Linked DNA regions of Homo sapiens: regions 2 and 3 are each linked to region 1. The links are contacts of gene promoters, found by promoter capture Hi-C in human tissues and cell types (Jung and others, 2019). All regions are on one chromosome and are shown on one strand. The core of a region is centred on a gene start or on the middle of the fragment in contact, and the rest is flanking DNA. Distances in the headings are between cores, read along the strand shown. Region 1 holds the start of AMER2 (APC membrane recruitment protein 2). Region 2 overlaps LOC105370121 (a long non-coding RNA gene). Region 3 has its middle 37 kb from the start of PABPC3.

Region 1 (4,335 bases), core at 1,119-3,618:
GCTGGACTTCCGTCCGGGTCAGCATAGAGATCATAGAGCGCGTCCCCGCTGTAGCTATCCCGGGGGATGCCCGCCTTCTTCCCGCTGCTCGAGCTGTCTTCCTCTGGGCCTGGCGTGGTGGAGTCCCAGTAGCCCTCGTCGCTGTTGGGGACGCCTTCCTGCTGCTCCTTCTCCGGGTGCTTGGGCTCCTCCTTAGGATGGGGCTCGATGGGAATCCGGTTGAGCCTCCTGCGCTTGACCGAGGACGCGTCCTTGGCCGCTTCCACACACCTGGTGTCTTTGGGGGTCTCGGGCACCACCTTGGTTTCCAGCGCAGCTGCCACCTTAGCCGCGCCCTCCTGGGGCTCGGGTCCCTGCTCCTCGGTCTGGGAGAGCATGTCCCAGAACTCCTGTAGATAGGTGTCGTCCACCTCGTCCGGGCTGGCCATCTCTTCCCCGCCTCCTTGGTAGGCCACCACGCCGGGGTTCTTTTTAGACAGAGCCGGCTTGCCTGGCCCGGGGACATGCTTGTCACAGCTGGGACCTGCCTCTTCCTCTTGGTCTGCAATAATATCTCCACAGCCTGTAAGAGAGTCAAAGCTTTTCAGTGAAGTCACGTCAGAAAACATCAAACAAATACGATCTGCCGACGGGTCTGAGGGTGGATCGACAGAGGCAGGGTCTGGGGCGGCGGGCGCCCGGCCGCTGCCGCCTTCGGAGTCGACAAGGGGGACCGTCTTTACGGGAACGGCCCCCGTCCTGGAAGCGTCCTCTGCCGTGCGGACCTCCCCGGGCCCCGGCTCGGCGCGCCGATGCCCCGCGGCGTCCTCTCCCCGGGCGCCGGTGTCGCCGGGGTGCGCGAGGCCCTCTGCCTCTCGGCAGCTCCGCGCTGGGGCGCGGTCGGCGGGGGCGGGCACCTCCTCTCCCCCTGCGGGCTCACCTGCTGGGTCTCGCGGGGCGTCCTGGCTGGGCTCCTCCGGCTCGCGCGCGGCTCTGGGCGTCTCCTCCTTGACGCACTCCAGGCTGGCGGTGAGCGAGCCGGGTAGGATCAAGCCGCCCCCGGGCGCGCGCCCCTCCGCGGCCTCCGCCTTGGCCCGCTTGTCTTTCCTGTGCCAGCGCATGCCGCTGAACAGCCCCCGCAGCCCCCGCTTTTGTTTGCCGCCGGCCTTGCTCGCGTCCACAGGCTCTCCCTTGCCGTTTTCCGAGCGCCCGTTCTTCTTCAGCAGCGAGAAGAAGCTGTGCGACTTGGCCACCGAGCTGCTGGCGAGGGAGCCCCCGCCGGGCCCTGCGGCTCTGGGGGGCCCCGGGTTCGGCCGCCCCCCGCCGCCCCCGCCGCTGTCGCCCCCGCCGCGCGGCTCCTCCTTCCTGCCGCTCTCCAGCACCAGCACCTCGGCAAGTCCGTCGTGGGTCCTGCTCCTCACCAGCCCCGTCGGACCCGAGCTTTTCCCGTCCCCTTTGTTTTTGACCCCAAAAATGCTGGGCATGGTGCCACCCGATTTCCTCTTCTTGAATAATTTGAAGGCAGCTTTATTAATCTTCCCCGACGGCGGCTCGGCGGCCGGCGTTTCGGCGGCACAGTCACAATGCAAGTCCATGTCTGCCGCGAGGGTCCCGGTCCCGGCCCCGGCCTCCGCCTTCCTCCTGCAGACCCCCACGGACGCGCCAGCTCCGCCGCGCTCGCTGACAGCCCCGCCGCCGCCGCGGCTCCGGCTCGTCTCCATGGAAACCGCGCGGGATAAGCCGCTTTCGTCAGCAGTGGGCTCGCGCCAGGCCACTGTCACCCGTATTCTAAATCAACCTGAGCCGCGCTCGCCGCCGCCGCTGCAAAAGAAACACACATAAAAGACCATCTTCCCTCCCGCAAGGGCTTATATAATACCCTAACCCACTTCCATCCGACTTGGCTCGGCGCTGCATGGCGTTTTTGTGGCAGGAGCAGGCAACACAGCCGCGAGCTGATTGCAGAAATTCGAGTCGTAATTATGGAATTCAAATTCCCTCAACTCTCACCCACCTTCGGATTCCTTCTCTAGACTCGCTCTTCACGGGAGCGCAACCATGGATCACGAAATGCCTCTAAAAACGACAACGCAATTCAACCCACCACAAAATGCTTGTTTTTCTTATCCTCTCTCCTAGACTCCCTGCATCTTCATGCCTTTCCCAAGCCCTTCATGTCTGTCCTTAGCATTGGTGCACTAAGCCCAGCAGGCAGGAAGCATGTCTGCCTACATCCATGTCTTGTCCAGAGCTGAGCACACGCTAGGTCCATGCTGTGTGGCTGTCATTGTGGTTATGGTTCTTGTGACAAAAGTACACGCCACCACTCAATCAGTCTATCAGCAGCCCAGCAATGCAAGCACAACAGCTCCCCGGGGTGGAGTTTGCCTGCACCTTTGGGACAACCATGACTTTTATCCCAGACTCCAGCCACCACGGGATGAAGTCACAGATGCTGCGGCACAGCCCACATCTGATAACAATAGACAAGCTGACCGAGACACACAGGCTGGGAATCTCAGACCCACTCCACAGGTGGGCCTTCGAGTCCGGGTTCTGCCCTCTCCTTTCCCACTCAGCAGGACAGTGGCATTATTCCTGTCACTGCGGTACCACTCCCCTCCCCCATACCACCAGGGCTGACTTGTAGTCCCCTTCCCCAATGTACAGAGCAGGAAAAGCTTGGCAGGGGTCCCTGTGTGTCCAGGGATCTCTGCAGACATTCCTACCTGCCTGGTCTGGGGAGAGGGAAAACCTTTTTTCTGGGAACAGCTCAGTCTAGGGATCTGTTCTGTGTTCTGATTTAAAAAGTGACTGCTAATATTCTAATCTTGACATCTGATTTCATAATCCCAGCTGAGTGCTTTTTAGCAAAAAGAAATTTGGAGAAGCATATACATATATAAATATAACATGTATATATAGTATATATTATTTAATCATTTGATTATTTATTAAATATCATTTAAGAATATATGTAATAATTACATATATACACAAACAGTAGTCTTTTCCCTACTCATTTTTTATATGCTCTTTGCATTAGGCCAATAAATCCCAATCCCCATCCACATAAGTTGGCGTTTTATAAATGACGTATGTTGGCCATTGCAGCTTCTGTTGTTATGAGATACAGCTGGTTAAAATTTAGACCTTGGAGTTCTTAGTTGTATTATTTCCTTTTTTTGTTTATTTTTTTCAAGAACACTGTTTTGTAAAACGAAGAAATCAATGAGTTCAGGTTCAGGAGAGGTTGTCACTTCCAGACTCTAATCCCATCAACTCTTTCTCACTATTGATGAGCATCTCTCCTGGTACAGGAAGTAAGGTGAGGCCAGAGAGAGGCTTTCCCGGATTCTAATTGACCGCTTGACATGATGAATCAGAGTCCTCAGTGCTTTCTGGGGAGACCACGTGTAAGGAACTGTAAAGAGAAACCCATTTGTTACGTCTTTACAACCTTTTGAAGAACAATAGAAAGTCTCTCAATTTTACACACATACACACACACACACACAAACACACACACACCCATACAGTTGCTTAGATTTGTGGGTTACTATGTAGCTCTGTCAGTTTGGAAGAGTTTGTGACTGGGATCAAGGAAAAGTAAGTCGCCTATTAAAAAATCTCCCTTTCTCCACTGGGAGAAAGTGGTCTGCTTATTCACCCATCAGGACAGGTCAAATGTGACTCTAATTTACATGAGAATCTTTGGGCCTCCTGGGAGAAATCTGATAGAGGACTTTGGGATGGATATCATTCTTTTGGGACATCAACACTCAAACAAAGAGAAAGAGACAAAGCTGTCTTCAGCCTGCGGAAGGTGCCCTCACTGTGAGTTACTGGCCCTGAGATAGAAGAAAGCAGGGACCCCTGGAACAATCTGAAGGCACTGGGCATGGGAGCTGTAGAGGCTGCGGTGTGAGTGAGGACCCTCCAGCGTCCTACTCAAAGTCCTTGTTACAGAGACAGTGGGAAAAACGAGGGTGAAGTCAGCTGAAAGGAACTTACCCCAAAAGCCAGACAGGTAAGGAGAGACTCTGTAGGGGAGAGAGATGAGGCGCAGGATGGTCCAATGGTTTGTTGGTTAGAGCCAGGTTATGAATCATCACAAAGACTGAGCCATACCTTATATTAAACTTCACAGTCAAGAGTGGAGAAAGCAAAATGGTGATTTTTTTTTTCCCTGAGAGACAGAACATGACAGTGAAGATAATTTTACCGTAAGCACTCCCATTTTTGTTTATAGTTTCTTCTTTCATTCTTTTCCCCCATCCTGCCCCAGCTTGGGAGTGAATAGAAAATTAGAGTAGAAAGGAATAGAGAACAGGACCGAGGGGAAACATTTCAGGG
Region 2 (4,335 bases), core at 989-3,488, 53 kb after region 1:
GGTGCCTTCTGGTCCTCACATGGGAAGCGGCAAGGGAGCTCCCCTGAGCCCCGTGGTGTTATGAGATGTATAGTGCAGGGTATATGTGTAGGCATTCCTCCACGGTTCCTCACTCCTAACTCCCAGAGCCCTTGTGTATTAGTCTGTTCTCCTGCTGCTAATAAAGACATACCTGAGAGTGCGTAATTTATAAAGGAAAGAGCTTTAATGGACTCACAGTTCCACATGGATGGGGAGGCCTCACAATCATGGAGGAAGGCAAATGAGGAGCAAAGTCACATCTTAACGTGGCGGCAGGCAAGAGAACGTGTGCAGGAGAACTCCCATTTATAAAACCATCAGATCCGTAAGACCTATTCACTATCACGAGACCAGCAGGGGAAAGACACCCGTTCTGTGATTCGATTATCTCCACCTGGCCCCACCCTTGACACATGGGGATTATTACAATTGAAGATGAGATTTGGGTGGGGACACAACCAAACCATTATCACCTTGTTACAGTCTTTTGTAATAATGCTGGGCGTGTTGGGCCTCGGGACAGCCTCTGATCTTCTCCTGCCCTCCTGTCGCCTGCCCCAAGGCAGAACACCAGTCTTCTCCTGCCTTTCTGATTGCAGGTTTTAAGACCTTCCCCCGAGTGGGTCCCATCTCATGTCCTCGGGGAAAGGAATGCTTTCATAAAAACCCAGTAGGACTGGGCTCAGGTGCTTCCAGATGACTGAAAACGTGGAGGTTGATGGAAGCTCGGAACCCCTTCCCCCATACCTTGCCCTATGCATCTCTTCATCTGTATCCTGTGTACTATCCTTTATAATAAACCAACAAGTAAGTGTTTCCCTGAGTCGTGTGAGCTGCTGCAGCAAATTAATCAAACCCAAACAGGGGGTCGTAGGAACCCTAACTTGAAGATGTCCGGTCAGAAGTTCTGGAGGTCCAGACTTGCAGCTGGTGTCAGGGCGTATGACGGGAATCTTGGGGACTGTGGGATCCAGTTCCCAATGCCAGGGAGCCTCCAACCTGTGGGATCTGACACTGTTTCCGGGTAGTGTTGGAATTGAATTGGAGGACACCCAGCTAGTGTCTGCTGCTTCGTGTCGGGGGGAAAAAACCCACACATTTGGTCACAGAAGTCTTCTGCGTTGACTCTTGTGGTGATGGGGAAGTAGAGGAAAAATGCAGTCAGTGAGACTTTTTCCCCGAAACAAGCCTCTTTTATAAGTACCCTAATCCCATGCATTTGGGCGCAGCCCTCATGACTTAATTACTTCCCAAAGGCCTCACTACCATAGCAGGTATTAGTTTCCAAGATATGAATTTAGGGGAACAGCAACATTCAGGCTGGGAAGAAGAGTAGTTAGCAGCTGGGAGACTAGCTGGGGGTTCTGTGGATGCCCAGGAGAGGGTTGAAGGTGTTGCCACATTATTTTTCTCTTTTGTTTCATTTGTCTTTTTCACCCTTAAGTAGATATTCTGAAAGTCTGCCTACTTGATTACTTTTTGTCTAAGAAACTGCTCTCAGGTTTATTGGCTTTTTTGATGTTCTCTTTTTAATAATTCATTAACAGTGTTTTTTATCTTTGCTTTATTTTGTTGTTGTTGTTGTTTTTGTTTTTACTCATTTCTGCTTCTTAAGCTTAGCTCATCTGTTTGTTGCTTTCTTTAAAAACAAAAACAGGCCGGGCGCGGCACCTGTAATACCAGCACTTTGGGAGGCCGAGGCGGGCCAGGAGTTCGAGACTAGCCTGGCCAACATGGTGAAACCCCGTCTCCATACACAAAAAATTAGCCGGGCATCATGGCGCCTGCCTGTAATCCCAGCTACGCAGGAGGCTGAGGCAGGAGAATTGCTTGAACCCAGGAATTGGAGGTTGCAGTGAGCCGAGATCGTGCCACTGCACTCCAGCCTGGGCAACAGAGTGAGACTCCATCTAAAAAAAGAAAACACACACACACACACACACACACACACACACACACACACACTTGTTGATTTCAATATATCCTATAAATCTGATAGGTAGCAAAACCTTAGTTTCACCAGACATTGCCGGTTTAGGCACTAATGGCCTTGCATCAGTGACCCAAATTTCACTGGGTCAAGGTCCCACATGGACAGCGGTCATCTTTTTTAACCCTCTTAAGTTTGAGGAACTCCCCACCATATAAAGTGGAACCTACCTACCGTATTTTAAATGAATAGCCCCGATACTTTTCCCAGCTCCTTTTGTGCTAAGACATGGGTCCTAGACCCTACATTACAATCCAAGGACAGGAAGAGCTGGTGGCTGTGCAGAGCCCTCCTGGGATGCAGGTAGCCAGGGCCACAGCCACATACTATGATGGAGGAGCTTGTGGCATCTGGAAGCCAACAGCATAAAATGTTCCATGAAAGAGGGATGACCAAACACATCAAATGTCTTAAATGAACCGGAGAAAGGGAGCAATGAAAACTGGCCACTGGCTGTGGAGACCATGGGGAGTGGAATCAGGGGCCGCTCTTTCTGATGGTGTCTGTGTTCTCTGTGAACAGGGAAGGAAGCGGCGCGAGGGGATGTTGGAGGCTGGAGGAGAGAAGGTGTGTGGGCATCCACAGAAGGGGATCAGTACTGAGTAAGGTTGGCACTTTTTTGAGATTTCTTGAACATATGCAAATTTCCAAACATTGAAAAATTTCTGTAGCAGCAAGTCCCCATAACGTGTGCACTTGTTTCAGAGGACGCAAGCGTAAAAGCCAGATCAACTGTACTCTAGAGCCAATGCTAAGGGGTAGAACCTCCAGGCAGCTGGAAAGATGTATCAGGTCCCCAGAGTCTGTGGAGGGAATTACAGGATTGCTCCTGGAGACCCTGAGTGGGCAACAAGGGCTGAGTGGCTGGTGGCACAGCGGGAACCTTGTGCTCCTCACAGTCCTGAGCCCTCTTCTATGTGGTCTTTCTTCCATGAGGAAAATTGGACTTAAAATGTTTGGATTTCACTGATGTAGATCTCCAACAAATGTTTTTTTTTCCACTTTAATAGATCCCGGTAATTGCAAAAATCTAGTGGAGGTTATTTCTTGCACTCACTTCTGCTTTGACTGAATAATATATCTCCTTCCCCAGATGAGGACACGTTTTAAATGTGCTCCATCAGAGGCCTCTACTTTCCGCTGTGGTTTAAATGCTTATCTTTGAATGTGCTCCTAGTCTATGAGTGAATTGGAATAAGAATATAAATATTTGAAATGGCTAAAAGCAGACTTCCCCTGTCAAAACAACTGCAGTTTACCTCGAAAAGTGAACCCCACAGAACTTAAGAGGCTTCCCTTTCAGGCTTACACCCCAGACAACACTTTGAGCCTAATCTTTGGGCTTTCTAATTACTGACTTCCACTTGTTTTTTAATTTTAATTTAATTTATTTTTTTATTTTTTTGAGATGTAGTCTCGCTCTGTCACTCAGGCTGGAGTGCAGTGGTATGATTTCGGCTCACTGCAACCTCTGCCTCCCGTTCTCAAGCCATTCTTGTGCTTCAGCCTTCTGAGTAGCTGGGATTACAGGCACACACCACCACACCCGACTAATTTTTGTATTTTTTGTAGAAACAGGGTTTCACTGTGTTGCCCAGGCTGGTCTCAAACTCCTGAGCTCAAGCAGTCTGCCCGTCTTGGCCCAAAGTGCTGGGATTACAGGCATGAGCCATGACTTTCAATTTTAAAAGAGTAAGAGATTCTCCACACGTGTTCCCTACAATGTTAAGTCTCTGTGGCAGACAAGGAGTTGTAAATGGAACTTACAAAGAGGCAATCAAAATTATAAATTGTAAATTTAATTATAAGTATATAGTCTTATAAAATTATAAAACTAAATTATGCATTAAATTATAAATTGAGTCCATATATTGAATGCTACAAAAATTATAAATTGAATGCCAAGTATTACAATCCTATATTAAAGGGTTTTTACCCTATTCCTATTTACAAAAGGATATTTGACTACCTGACTTTCACTTATTCTCATGCCAATGTTAAACATAAATCTTACACCTGTGAAGATATAGACAGAAGCAGTCCATATTCTAAGAGTGAAATACTGATTTGATTGTGGATGTGACGCTACACCACCGAGCGAGGATGTTTTCACTGGCTGCAGTTAAACTCCGGAATAGGACCGTAAGAGAATCCTCTAAATAGCTCATTCCTATTTTCCAAGCACACTAGTAAAACCACTGTGGAGAACAACTGAACACTCTATAGGTCAGCCTTTGACCATAAATAAATAGGAGATGATAAAAACAGATAAATAAATAAGAACAAAGACCAAGGTTCTTCGGGTGCTTATTGTCTTTCACCAC
Region 3 (4,335 bases), core at 937-3,436, 39 kb before region 1:
GAGAAAGAGTGAAACAGAGAGAGAGGGAGGGAGGGAGGGAGGAAGGAAGGAAGGAAGGAAGGAAGGAAGGAAGGAAGGAAGGAAGGAAGGAAGGAAGGAAAAAAAAGAAAAGAAAATGATAGAATCTGAGTTCCTGATAAGCATCTTAGAAACTCCGTGGTACAGACTTGTTGGTGATGGGTAACCATGTCAACTTAGTGGGACAGGGTTTTCGTGGGAAGGACACTAGACTAGAAGAGCTGAATTCCAGTCTTAGCTCCACACGTGAGTGTGAGTAAGTGTGAGAGTGAGTGGGGGAGGGTGTGAATCTGGGCAATTTCTTTAATCTCTAGGGCCCATATTCTCAAACTTGAATGCCTTTATAAGTCTCCTGAGGAGTTTGTTAAAAATGCAAGTTTCTTTGTGGTGATTATTTCACCATGTAGATGTATATCAAAACATTACATTGTGTACCTTAAGTTATACTTTTTATTTGTTAATTATACCTCACTAGAGATAAAAATAAAGAGTAAGATTTTTTAAAAAGCAAATTTCTGAGCTTCATCCTAGAAGTTCTTACTTCCTGTTCCAGGAGCAGAGATCAGAAACCCAATTTTTAAATAAATGCTTCTGATGTGGATGATCTATGTATTATAATGTGAGAAAAACTTTGATTTCTCATGAGTTAACTTAGAATAATTTTTTTCCTGTGTTTCTCCTGAGGTCTCAGTGAGCAGAAAAAAAGACAATCTATATAAAATAGTGTTGTAAACTTAAGATACTATACAACTGCAGAATGTTCTGTGAATAAGACTTCTATTATTCCCCACAAAACCTTTTGTATCCCCCACTAAAATAGTCCAGATTCTTTGCTAGGTATGTAGTATATTGGGCACAGAGTCTTTTATGATTTCTGGGTCACACTCTGCATTCTAACCTTCACCATCTTTATGTGTTTTTTTTCTCTCCATTTTCCCCCCAAAGTCCAAGGCCTCCTCGAGTTTTGGGTTTTATACGATCTTTGTCAGTCAGTCTTAATCCAGTTGCATTTCATTTGCAACAGATTCTCTTCAAGCCCCTGCACTGTCAATCTTGTCACGAAAATCACTCACAGATGCAGAGCTGTCAGTAGCATAGGTTTGTGACAGATTTGGGACATCATAGCCATACTGAGTCCTGTGAGACTTTACCCAGGCCCTGGGACTTGGTCCAACTTTTGTTGGTGATGCTTTTATTCCTGGCTTCACTGCTCCTGCACTCCCTGTCTAAAGCTGTCTCTGACCCTTTGTTGATACCCTCCGTTAACAGTCCCTTAATACATGACAAAGGGCTACACCTACACGCTGGTCTTTCAGAGGCACCAGCCCCAAGGGCTGGCTGGGGAGTGGGGTTTATACAGACCTCAGTTCTGTCCTTCCCAAACTCCCCGACACCCAACACACACACATCATCTGTGCTTTATTGAATTCCCATCCTTTCCTCTTGTTCTAACTCAAATAAGCTGTACTGTTCCTTCTGTTCTGGCCTGTCAGCCAGTGAGCAGGATGAAATGAATGTGAATCAATGAATAAATAAGTGATACAGATACAAGAGAGTCAGTGGTGTGATAGCTAACTCTTGGGGCTGTGTGGGCCAGGTTAAGGACAGAGCAAAACTCCACTGAGGGTGGCCTCTAAGGGTGGCCAAATACAAAGTATAAATGGCACCAGGGACTACTTACATGGCAACTTGGAAAGACTGTATAACTCTATCATGCTTCCAGCTATTGTCATTTTTCCAACTTTAGGTTATTCTTTCTTTTAAGAATACTTTCTTCTGCTACTCTGCAGCTGGGATGCTTATAAGCCAGTTAATTGGTGCCAACATAAAGAAAGGCCCTTTGGTTCCATTTTCCCAGGTTTTGGGGGACATCTGAGCCAAGAGAACTGTGGCATCCTCATACATTAATGAGCTATCTGTGACTTGGGCATTTTGGAACAAAAGTGTGGTGTGGAATGTGGCCAAATCACTCACACAGTGTGTAAATGCATTCACTTCCTCCTCATATATTATAGACTACATGCAGGGGTCTAGCAGAGAGGGGTGGCGGGAGTCCAACAGTGAACACGACATCCTGGCCTTTCCGAGATCATTTTCTCAAAAGAAAGACAGAGGAGTCAACAGGCAAGTAAAATAGGCTGCAACAGAAGGTTCTGTTTGTTGTGTTTATTCTGGGGAAAAACTGCTCCCCTCACAGTGTATCTATAGTGTTGTGAAATTAGAAAACAATTTTGAAAACTCTGTTCATATTAGATGCTTACCAGAACACTCCCATGGGAGGAGGTGTGTTCCTGAGTCATAGAGAAGCTGAGCAGACAGATGGAGCTGATATCATGGGCCAGAATATTTTGTAGGTGCAGGGTCCATCTTTCATCACTGCCATGCGAGTGAGCTGTGAAGTGGGAGGGGACCGTATATGGACTGGACCTCAGGTGCTGAAGGAGAATGAAGACTCTAGAAGCAATATTTGGTGTAAAACTTACTTTGGAAGAAGATGTCGAGGCAGCAGGTTTTTTGGCTCCTGGTTCCTCAAAGTTGGCAAGAACTAGGTGCTTGTTAGAAGTGTTGAATCTCAGGTTACACCCCAGATTTCCAGAATTAGGATATGCATTCAGTAAAATCTCCAGATGGTTCATAAGCACATAACAGTTTCAGAAGTGCTGATCTACAACTGGAAAGAAGGTACACCTTACAGCCTATCTCAGAAGTCTAGACCTGGAAAAAAGATACAGCCTAGGATGGAGACAAGAGTCGGAGGAGACAGAGTAGGCACAATGCAAAGAAGCTCAAGAGGGTGCTGCTACAGAGGACTGCCCAGGGCATGAGCACATCTTGTACTGAATAAACTGCTCACTGCTTTTTCTGGGACCTCTCCTTACAACCTGAAATCATCTGCCTTAATAAAACCAATAGTAGCTAAGACTTTGATGGTGCCAGACACTCTTCCAAGCACTTTACCTGTATCAACTCATTCAATCTTCACAACCCATAAGGGGGTTATGAATAGTCTCTTCATTCCACAGATGAGAAAATCGAGGCACTGACGTGAAGTGGCTTCCCCTAAAAGCCCACACAGCTAGCAAGTACCAGACCAGGATTCAAACCCAGGCAGTGCCATCCTTTATCACCATGCTCTTGTGCCTTGCAGGATCTTAATCTGTTTGTATTTGCATTTAGTTCTTTTTGTTTTCCTTGGTGCTATGGTTTGAATATGTCCCCCAAGAAAGCATGTGTTAGAAGCTTAATCTCCAATGCAACAGTGTTGGGAGGTGGGGCCTAATGGGAGGTGTTTAGGGTGTAAGGGCTACACTCTCATGGATGGATTCATGCCAGTTACAATGGGACTTGAGGCTACAAGTTCAGTCTCTCACTTGCTCTCTTGTCATGCAATTCCTTCTGCCATGTTACAAAGATGCAAAGAAGGCCCTCACCAGATGCTGAGCAGATGTCAGCACCATGCCCTTGGACTTCCCAGTCTCCAGAATCATAAGCCAAATGTCTTAGTCCATTTTGTGTTGCTATAACAAAATAACAGAGACTGGATAATTTCTAAACAAAAGAGGTTTATTTCTTATAGATCTGGAGGCTGGGAAGTCCAAGTTCAAGTGTCTCACATCTGGCAAGAGCCCTCATGCTATGTGTCAACCCATGGTGGAAGGCGAGAGGGTAAGTGAAGGCAAAAGACAGAGGAGAGGAGGTCAAACTTACCCTTTTTTCAGAAGCTCACTCCCACAATAACAACATTAATCCATTCATGAAGGTGGAGCCCTCATTACCTAATCACCTCTTAGAGGTCTCACCTCTCAACACTGTTGCATTGGGGATTAAGTTTCCAACACATCAACTTTAAGGGATGCATTAAAACCACAGAACAAAATAAATTTCTCACTCCAGCCTGGGGGACAGAGCAAGACCCTGTCTTAAATAATAATAATAATAATAATTTTAAAATTAATTAATTAATTTCTTTTTTATATAAATTACCCAGTCCATGCAGCACAAAGGAACTAAGATGCTTAGAGTGTCAGCTTTGGTTTGTTTATTTGATTTTATTATCCTAACTCTACAGTCCTAAACAGAAATAAGAGGCAGAGACAGGTGTGTCCTAGGCTGTCCCCTCCTCTGGTCTCCTGTCCTGTCACCTTTCACTAGAGCATGCAAACTGGCAGCCCAGGGGCTGAATTCAGCCTACGGTGTGTTTTGCTTCACTGTAGGTGTTTTAAAAATCAGAAATTTTTACACAAAAATCTATATAATCCCATTTGCTCTCTCTGGCTTGCCACAGTACCCACCACATTCTGAGGTCTTATTGCTGGC

What was found. The method cuts DNA at HindIII sites, captures the fragments that hold promoters and counts their contacts. A contact is called where the count stands out against the background at its distance.
Region 2: a fragment that was not itself captured here is called in contact with the fragment with the promoter of AMER2 in region 1 in 1 of the 25 tissues and cell types used here (dorsolateral prefrontal cortex).
Region 3: a fragment that was not itself captured here is called in contact with the fragment with the promoter of AMER2 in region 1 in 3 of the 25 tissues and cell types used here (dorsolateral prefrontal cortex, neural progenitor cells and spleen).

What each region holds. Positions count from the first base shown.
Region 1 is chr13:25,169,920-25,174,254 of GRCh38, forward strand. AMER2 (APC membrane recruitment protein 2) reads right to left here and starts at 2,369. Exons shown (of 1, transcript NM_152704.4): 1 at 1-2,369. The coding sequence starts at 1,700. LINC00463 (long intergenic non-protein coding RNA 463) reads right to left here. Exons shown (of 4, transcript NR_120428.1): 3 at 3,994-4,168; 4 at 2,905-3,403. RefSeq lists a silencer at 859-948 and an enhancer at 3,228-4,335. The HindIII fragment of the contact is 4,196 bases long and covers 1-3,657 here.
Region 2 is chr13:25,223,368-25,227,702 of GRCh38, forward strand. It overlaps LOC105370121 (a long non-coding RNA gene), which reads right to left. Exons shown (of 3, transcript XR_941763.3): 3 at 3,791-4,335. Among named protein-coding and RNA genes, the nearest start is that of LINC01053, 44 kb to the left of the region's middle. RefSeq lists an enhancer at 2,770-2,939. The HindIII fragment of the contact is 3,211 bases long and covers 634-3,844 here.
Region 3 is chr13:25,130,928-25,135,262 of GRCh38, forward strand. No RefSeq gene overlaps it. Among named protein-coding and RNA genes, the nearest start is that of PABPC3, 37 kb to the left of the region's middle. The HindIII fragment of the contact is 5,264 bases long and covers 1-4,335 here.